3 separate regions of the Homo sapiens genome follow, and regions 1 and 3 are each linked to region 2. The links are contacts of gene promoters, found by promoter capture Hi-C in blood cells and fetal thymus (Javierre and others, 2016). All regions are on one chromosome and are shown on one strand. Each heading gives the region's core, a stretch centred on a gene start or on the middle of the fragment in contact. The rest is flanking DNA. Distances are from core to core; before and after follow the strand shown. Region 1 overlaps LINC03111 (long intergenic non-protein coding RNA 3111). Region 2 holds the start of MC4R (melanocortin 4 receptor). Region 3 overlaps LINC03111 (long intergenic non-protein coding RNA 3111).

The links. The method cuts DNA at HindIII sites, captures the fragments that hold promoters and counts their contacts. A CHiCAGO score of 5 or more calls a contact.
Region 1: a fragment that was not itself captured here is called in contact with the fragment with the promoter of MC4R in region 2 in 1 of 17 cell types (fetal thymus); the score reaches 5.4 in fetal thymus.
Region 3: a contact is called between a fragment that was not itself captured here and the fragment with the promoter of MC4R in region 2, in 1 of 17 cell types (fetal thymus). The highest score is 5.2, in fetal thymus.

The regions. Positions count from the first base shown.
Region 1 is chr18:60,133,608-60,136,307 of GRCh38, forward strand. The region is part of intron 2 of LINC03111 (long intergenic non-protein coding RNA 3111); the gene reads left to right. Among named protein-coding and RNA genes, the nearest start is that of LINC03111, 9.9 kb to the left of the region's middle. The HindIII fragment of the contact is 9,080 bases long and covers 1-2,700 here.
Region 2 is chr18:60,371,411-60,374,110 of GRCh38, forward strand. MC4R (melanocortin 4 receptor) reads right to left here and starts at 1,365. Exons shown (of 1, transcript NM_005912.3): 1 at 1-1,365. The coding sequence starts at 939. The HindIII fragment of the contact is 4,351 bases long and covers 1,329-2,700 here.
Region 3 is chr18:60,151,875-60,154,574 of GRCh38, forward strand. The region is part of intron 2 of LINC03111 (long intergenic non-protein coding RNA 3111); the gene reads left to right. Among named protein-coding and RNA genes, the nearest start is that of LINC03111, 28 kb to the left of the region's middle. The HindIII fragment of the contact is 4,802 bases long and covers 1-2,700 here.

The DNA of each region.
Region 1 (2,700 bases), core at 170-2,669, 240 kb before region 2:
GTTTATGCTAGGACAATTTGAATGCTTCTTTTCTAGCTATTTTGAAATATACGATAGAGTGTTGTAAACTATAGTCACCCTAGTTGTCTGTCTAATACTAGCTCTTATTTCTTCTATCAAAAAGTATATTTGTACCCATTAATCAGCCTCTCATCCCACCTCCCTAGTACCCTTCCAGGCTCTGGTAATCACTGATCTACTCTCTATCTTCATGAGATTCACTTTTTTTTTTAGCTCCCACATGTGAGTGAGAATGTGATATTTGACTTTCTGTGCTTGGCTTGACAGTGTGGTGATTCCTCAAGGATCTAGAACTAGAAATACCATTTGACCCAGCCATCCCATTATTGGGTATATATACCCAAAGGATTATAAATCATTCTACTATAAAGACACATGCACACGTATGTTTGTTGCTGCACTATTCACAATAGCAAAGAGTTGGAACCAACTCAAATGTCCATCAATGATAGACTGGATTAAGAAAATGTGGCACATATACATCATGGAATACTATGCAGCCATAAAAAAGGATGAGTTCATGTCCTTTGTAGGGACATAGATGAAGCTGGAAACCATCATTCTGAGCAAACTATCGCAAGGACAGAAAACCAAACACCGCATGTTCTCACTTATAGGTGGGAATTGAACAATGAGAACACTTGGACACAGGGTGGGGAACTTCACACACCAGGGCCTGTCATGGGGTGGTGGGAGCGGGGAGGGATAGCATTAGGAGAAATACCTAATATAAATGATGAGTTAATGGGTACAGCACACCAACATGGCACATGTATACATATGTAACAAAGCTGCATGTTGTGCACATGTACCCTAGAACTGAAAGTATAAAAAAAAAAAAAAAAAAACAATTACTCCAGTTCCCTCCTAACACAAAAACAAAAACAAAAACAAAAACAAAAACCATGCACCTTGATCCAATTACTTTTAGTCACTTTCTACTGAAACATTTGAGTAGATTTTGGTTTCCTAAAAATTATTTTACAGTATCCAAGGGGAAGTATCTCTTCTTCATCATAGCACAGGGCCCTAAGTTGTTGTTTTTTTCAGCATGTGACTATCTTTAGAAAGCCCTCAATTCTCATGGAAACCATTCATAATACAAGGATACTCATGGGCCCAGACAAATTAGTATAGAAAAGTGCCTTACCCTTCACTACAGAACAAGTTAGGAAGGTCAACTGTGGGCAGATGTGCAGGGTCTTGAATTAATGCTTCAGAAGCATAACTAAAATTTTACTTTTCTTTCCTGTATCATCCAAACCAGTGATATAACCCTTCTGAGACTCATGATAGACAAAACAGTTCTCGTGTACCAGATTGCTTTGTATGGGACCATATGTCTAAATCCTTAACCAAAAGTCTGAGATTTAAGAAAAACATAATCCCCAGACACAGTTATTAGGTATTCCAAATCCTGTTAGGCTGTGAGTTTAACTGCTTATGCAAAGTGGATTTGGTCCCTCATACACTGTAGCATTGACATTGGAGAAAAAGAGGCACAACCAGGAGGTGGAACAATAATGTGTTAATTTAATGTTCCACCAAGTTGTTGAGGGGTCAGTGATCTGAATAAACAATGAAGCAAGTTTATAAAATTAACTATGGTACTCCAAAGAACAGATATTTTAAGTGTTTTGTTCAGTTTATTTTTCACAAATGTTATTAAATTTTTATTTTAGTGCATGCATATGTTACGTATCAGAGCTCATAGTTGAACAAAGGAGGGAATAAATTAGCAATTTGGGGAATGTTGAAAATTAGAATGTTGGGTCTTGGCTGGGCGCGGTGGCTCTCTTATGAACTTGAATACAGGTTCATAAAAGTAAAAGGGAAAACTGTGCCTGGGAGAGGCACCAGAGAAGAGAGGAGTCTGATAGTCTGGAGATGAAGTTCTCTGAGAACTCCCACTGCAATTAGGTAAGAATCCACTCTCATGACCATGGTTTCTCAAACTGCTCAAAGTGCTGGTGCAATCCCAGCACTTTGGGAGGCAGAGTCGGGCAGATTACTTGAGGTCAAAAGTTCGAGACCAGGCTGGCCAACATGGTGAAACCCTGTCTCTACTAAAAATACAGAAATTAACTGGGTGTGGTGATGCGCACCTGTAATCCCAGCTACTGGGGAAGCTGAGGCAGGAGAATCGCTTGAACCTGGAGGTGGAGGTTGCAGTGAGCCGAGATTGTGCCACTGCACTCCAGCCTGGGGTGACAGAGCGAGACTCTGTCTTTAAAAAAAAAAAAAAGTTGGGTCTACAGAACGTCATTAAACTCAGTTTGCAAAGTAGAGCCCAGGATATAAAGAGAAAAATTAAGATAGGAGAGCACAACTTGAATACAGGTTCATAAAATTACAAGGGAAAACTGTGCTGGGAGAGGCAACAGAGAAGAGAGGAGTCTGAGAGTCCGGAGATGAAGTTCTCTGAGAACTCCCACTGCAATTAGGTAAGAATCCACTCTCATGACCATGGTTTCTCAAACTGCTAGGTGCTGCCCCCTCTCTGGAATCTTGTACTTTCTAGTTCACCATTCCCAGCTATATCAGCAGCTATTTTTTTTCTTATTTGACACCTCCCTCAGCTTTTCATCCTTGCTGTCCCATTTTTTTCCTTGGGGGTGGGGAATGCTCTCCCTGAATCCTCACATGAATGGCTCCTTCTTGCCACTTTTATCTTCCTTC
Region 2 (2,700 bases), core at 115-2,614:
GAAGGTTTTCCTCAGTTCTTGACTCCGGAGTGCATAAATCAGAGGATCGATGATTGAATTACACATGATCAGTATGAGATACAAGTTAAAGTGAGACATGAAGCACACACAATATGGATTCTGAGGACAAGAGATGTAGAATATTAAGTGGAGGAAGAATGGGGCCCAGCAGACAACAAAGACGCCAATCAGGATGGTCAAGGTAATCGCTCCCTTCATATTGGCACCTTGGCGGATGGCACCAGTGCCGGGGAGGACAGCAATCCTCTTAATGTGAAGCCTGGCCATCAGGAACATGTGGACATAGAGAGAAGCCATGAGAGCCAGCATGGTGAAGAACATGGTGATGAGGCAGATGATGACAGCACTACTATCTGAGTAAATGATGAACAAAATGCCTGAAACCGTGCAAGCTGCCCAGATACAACTTATGATGATCCCAACCCGCTTAACTGTCATAATGTTATGGTACTGGAGAGCATAGAAGATAGTAAAGTACCTGTCCACTGCAATTGAAAGCAGGCTGCAAATGGATGCAAGCAAGGAGCTACAGATCACCGAGTCAATGACATTATCAATATTCACTGTGAAACTCTGTGCATCCGTATCTGTACTGTTTAATAGGGTGATGACAATGGTTTCTGATCCATTTGAAACGCTCACCAGCATATCAGCCACAGCCAAGCTGCAGATGAAAAAGTACATGGGTGAATGCAGATTCTTGTTCTTGGCTATTGCCACAATCACTAAGATATTCTCCAACAAGCTGATGACACCCAGAGTCACAAACACCTCAGGAGAGACAAAAAGTTGCTCGTAGCACCCTCCATCAGAGTAGCCTTTTCCAAGGGACTCACTGGCATTGCTGTGCAGTCTGTAACTGCTGCGGTTCCAGAGGTGCAGAGAAGTGTGCATCCCACGGTGGGTGGAGTTCACCATGCTGGCAGGAGAATTCCAGTGTCCCCCTGAATTGATTTAACCTCCTGGGTCAGGGAGTCGTCTCAGTTATTTCCTCCAAGTCTTTATCTGTCTGAAAGTTGTGAGGCTAAAATTGCCATGCCTGCTGTGAGTAAATGTCACAAGTCCAGAGCTTGACATGGAGTTTTTAGTCTCTTTTAGGTACGACTCTAATCATCATCACTTTAAAATCTTGGGCTTCAAAATATTCATTCTCAGTTGAAAGAGTCTGCTCTTTGCTTTCTTGTTCTCACTTCTGCTTTAACTTTAATCTTATGCATTCAAGTCTGTTCAAAATAATTTTCCTTGAAGCTGCCATGCCATTGGGAGACGAATCTGTGCGCACATGCTCACATCGGCTGCCTCTCGGAAGCTTCTGTTTCCAGCCTGAGCGTTGCTTTGAGTGTTAGGGGCTGTAGGCGCCAGCTGCTGATTTTTATGATGTGTGGAGAGAAAAAAAACATGTTCACGGTGGCTCCTCCTCTGCTTCCTTCTGACCAATCCCAATGCAATGGGAGTCTGTGAGACAGGATTATGTTTCAGAGACACAAATTGCAGGGTGACACAGATTCAGATGCAGAAGCTCCTGAAGTCTGAAGTCGAGAAGCAAGCCGGATAAGAGACTGAATTTCCCTTTTTAAGTTTTCAAGGGAAACAACTTGATCCCTAGAGGCCATTCTGTGATATCAAAACAAGCTATCTTCAGGCAGCCAGGTTCATTCTTATGTAAAAGACATCATGTGTGTGTGTAAAATGAAATGGAAAGTATACTGTCTTATGTTCCTGAAACAGATACTCTGCTTTTTGGCTAGGATACTGAATTTATTTACCTTCTTAATTTTTTGTTTTTATTAAGAACCCAGCCAGTAGTGGTTCAGTTAAAATACCTGAAAAACAGAGAGGATATTTAATGATACAGATAGACATGGTATGGCTGGAAGAACTATGTAGGTAGCTATAAATTATGAATGGGTTCAAAAGGGGTTGATTTTAATGCACTAATATCCCATATTTCTCTATTGAGGAGTTTGTGTTATAGCTGAAAAAAGGTGCTTTTTATTTACAATATTTTAAACTCATACGGCATTAATGTAACTATGCTTACACTGAACTCAGGAAAATAATAAGCTGCATTCTGTTTTTTTTTTTTAAGCAACTTTTTTTTAAACCTCCAGAGTTTAACGTATCGTAAGTTGAACCGACAAATACCTAGTAACTTTACTTATCAAGCCAAGACTGGTGATACTAGTTAGTTATTGAAGTTTCTGAATATTTTGCTTAAGGTGGTTTGAAAGATGGCAGCAAAGTTACTTTCCAAATTAACTGAACAACAGATTATACAAAATTTTGTATATTCTTTTCTTCTATGATTATTTTTGGTTTTAGTGCTCTATAGTTTGTAGCTGCTTATTTCAGGGTTAATTCTGAATCTCAGTTACTTAGGTTGGGAATGTATCCTCTTTCCTTTTGTGACAGAGACAATACTAAGTATTGTTCCTGAGCATTGAGATAAATTAACGTCTTCCATCCACCTTTGGAATTGGGTAGGACCTTATGACTAAATTCTAGCTAATGGCATGTTGACAGTGGGGCTCATCGCATTAGCTCTTTCATAATTTTACACAAGTTTTCTCTCCTGTCTTTGAAATCTCATGTTACAGGTGGCAGGACCATATCATGAAAGGAGCCTGTCTCTTGAATGATTGCACAGAGCAGAACTCACACCTCCAACTCCCTTCCCCT
Region 3 (2,700 bases), core at 188-2,687, 220 kb before region 2:
TTTCTATGTTCATTTTTTTTCCTTTTTGTGGAGATGAAGGTCTCACTATGTTGCTAAGGCTGGTCTCAAACTCCTGGGCTCAAGTGATCCTCCTGCCTTGGCCTTCCAAAATGCTGGGATTACAGGCATGAGACACCGTGCTTGGCCTCTATGTTCATTTTAATTCTGGCCTAATGGTCTGATTTGCTGCTATCTCTGAGAACATTATTATAGAAATTTATACTGTTGATTGTTGAAAGACGCTACATCTAAAATTTAAAAACCAAAGAATCTGGCTTCAAACCTGAAGTTAAGGCACAGGGAGGAGTCTGTTTGTATATTCTAATCTGTTCTTCTGACACGCTTTGTTCTTTTTCTGTGGAAGCTCAACAACAGATATGTGCAGAGCTTATTAGTTTGTTGTGTTTCAGCTCAAATCTTTCCTGGAATCATTAATCTTAAACTTGACCATGATAGATACTTCAGGCTGTATGCTTCAACTGCCTTTGTCAAAATAGGCATTTGCATTATAATAGGAAAGTATATGAAATTGCCCTGTTTGTTAGACATTTTGCACCGTCTGATTTTTTTTTCCAGAAGTAGCACTGTGGCTTCTGTTCAGAGCAGGTATGTTTACTCTATTTATGTTTAAATAGCATTGCTTAGGCCTTGAGTATGTTGGGTTAGCAGGTAGAATGCTCCACTGCAAGTAACAGAATAGCTGACTGAAATAGAATTAAATGATATGGCTTGATTCTTTTTTCATGTAACAAAAAGTCCAGAAGTTAGTGTGTTCCAGTTTGTTTTAGGCATTCAATAATAATACACAAGACCCAATTTCCTTCCATCTGTAAGCTCTGTCATCCTCAATATGTCAGTGATGTCATGTCTATATCTACGGACTCAAGATAGTTGTAAAAGATTGTAGGATCATGTCCTCATAACACTCTTTTGAAGTCAGGAGAAAGGGCAGGGTTAAAAGCGATGCAGTGGAAAATTTCAGCAAAGAGTGCTCCTCATGTTGGTTTCTTTTTATTCCTAGTTGAATAAAAGCAAGCAAAACAACTATCAGCCATTTTAGCCTGTCTCTAGAATCTGGCCCTTCCTATACGGAGGAAGGGTGGCGGGCATAGCTGTGGGATAGTGAGCCAGTGCTGCCTTGCTCTCGGGCAGTTGCCCCACTATCTCTGGTGCTATCCTTCCTCTTCTTGGTGTTTCCCATAAGGAGACCCAGGCCACAAATCCCCGCCTACCATCTGGAGGAGAAAAGGACATGTCCCAGAAAAACTTTCGGCCCACTTTCCATAGATAAAGCAAGACCATATATGAAACTCATTCTCTCTGCTATGTTCAGTAATCTTAGAGAAGAAACTTAGGTTTTTGTGTCTTCTAAAATGCTATAAGATTTGTCATTGTTTACTAATAGCTACCTTCTTCTTGAAAGCCAGTTGAGGAGAGTTTTGGGGCAACATTTTCTGTTGGTTTTCTTCTGATTTCTTTTGTTATTTCTTCCAGCTTTTTCCTCCTATATGTCTGGGGTTCACTGGGTTCCTGACATACATCTCTTTGCATGCTACTCCTCTTCATTGTGCAATCTTATGTGCTCCTTTGGCAGCAAGTATAGCCTAAATGAGTTGATGACTTCCAAGCCTGGATCTCCAGCTTGCATTTCTTTATTGCGCTCCAGTTCCATACACCCAGTTATTACTGCATAAACATTTTTATTGGCTGTCTCGTTGGTATTTTGAACTCAGATATTACAGACTGAATTAAACTTTTTTCCTCTTTGCACTGACCCCTCCCCTGGCTTGCTTCACTTCCTTCATTTCTGTATCACTGAATGGCCCCTCAGATATACCCGGTGGTCCAAGTCCTCTTTCTCTTCTCTTGAATCCAACCTCCCCCAAAATCCTGTTGACTGTGCCTCCTAGATATTTTTGTAATCAGTCTCCTTTTGTCCACTTCTACTGACACTGCCTGAGTTCAGTCGCTTCTCTTGTTTTACCTTGATTATTCATTGCAGACCCTCATAACAGCTGTCAGCATCCCTCCTTTCTGACCCACAGCTTTCCTTTCTGTAACCCCAAATCAGGCTGATTGTACTTGAAACTCACATCTGAATAAAAGATTTCCCTGTTTAAAATCTTTAGATAGCTTCACATAACCTTCAGGATAAAAATCCAGACTCATAACATGTCAACATGAGATCTTCAGTGGACTTTAACATTTTTTGGTTCACAGACATCTTTTTTTTATTGAAGTGTTTTTTTTTTTTTAATTTTTGGTTTTTTATTTTACTTTAAGTTCTGGGATACATGTGCAGAATGTGCAGGTTTGTTACATAGGTATACATGTGCCGTGGTGGTTTGCTGCACCTATCAACCCGTCATTTAGGTTTTAAGCCCCGCATGCGTTAGGTATTTGTCCTAATGCTCTCCCTCCCCTTGCCCCCAACTCTCCAACAGGCCCCAGTGTATGATGTTCCCCTCCCTGTGTCCATGTGTTCTCATTGTTAAACTCCCACTTATAAGTGAGAATATGCAGTGTTTGGGTTTGTGTTCCTGTGTTAGTTTGCTGAGAACGATGGCTTCCAGCTTCATCAATCTCCCTGCAAACGACATGAACTCATTCTTTTTTATGGCTGCATAGTATTCCATGGTGTATATGTGCCACATTTTATTCATCCAGTCTATCATTGTTGGATATTTGGGTTGGTTCCAC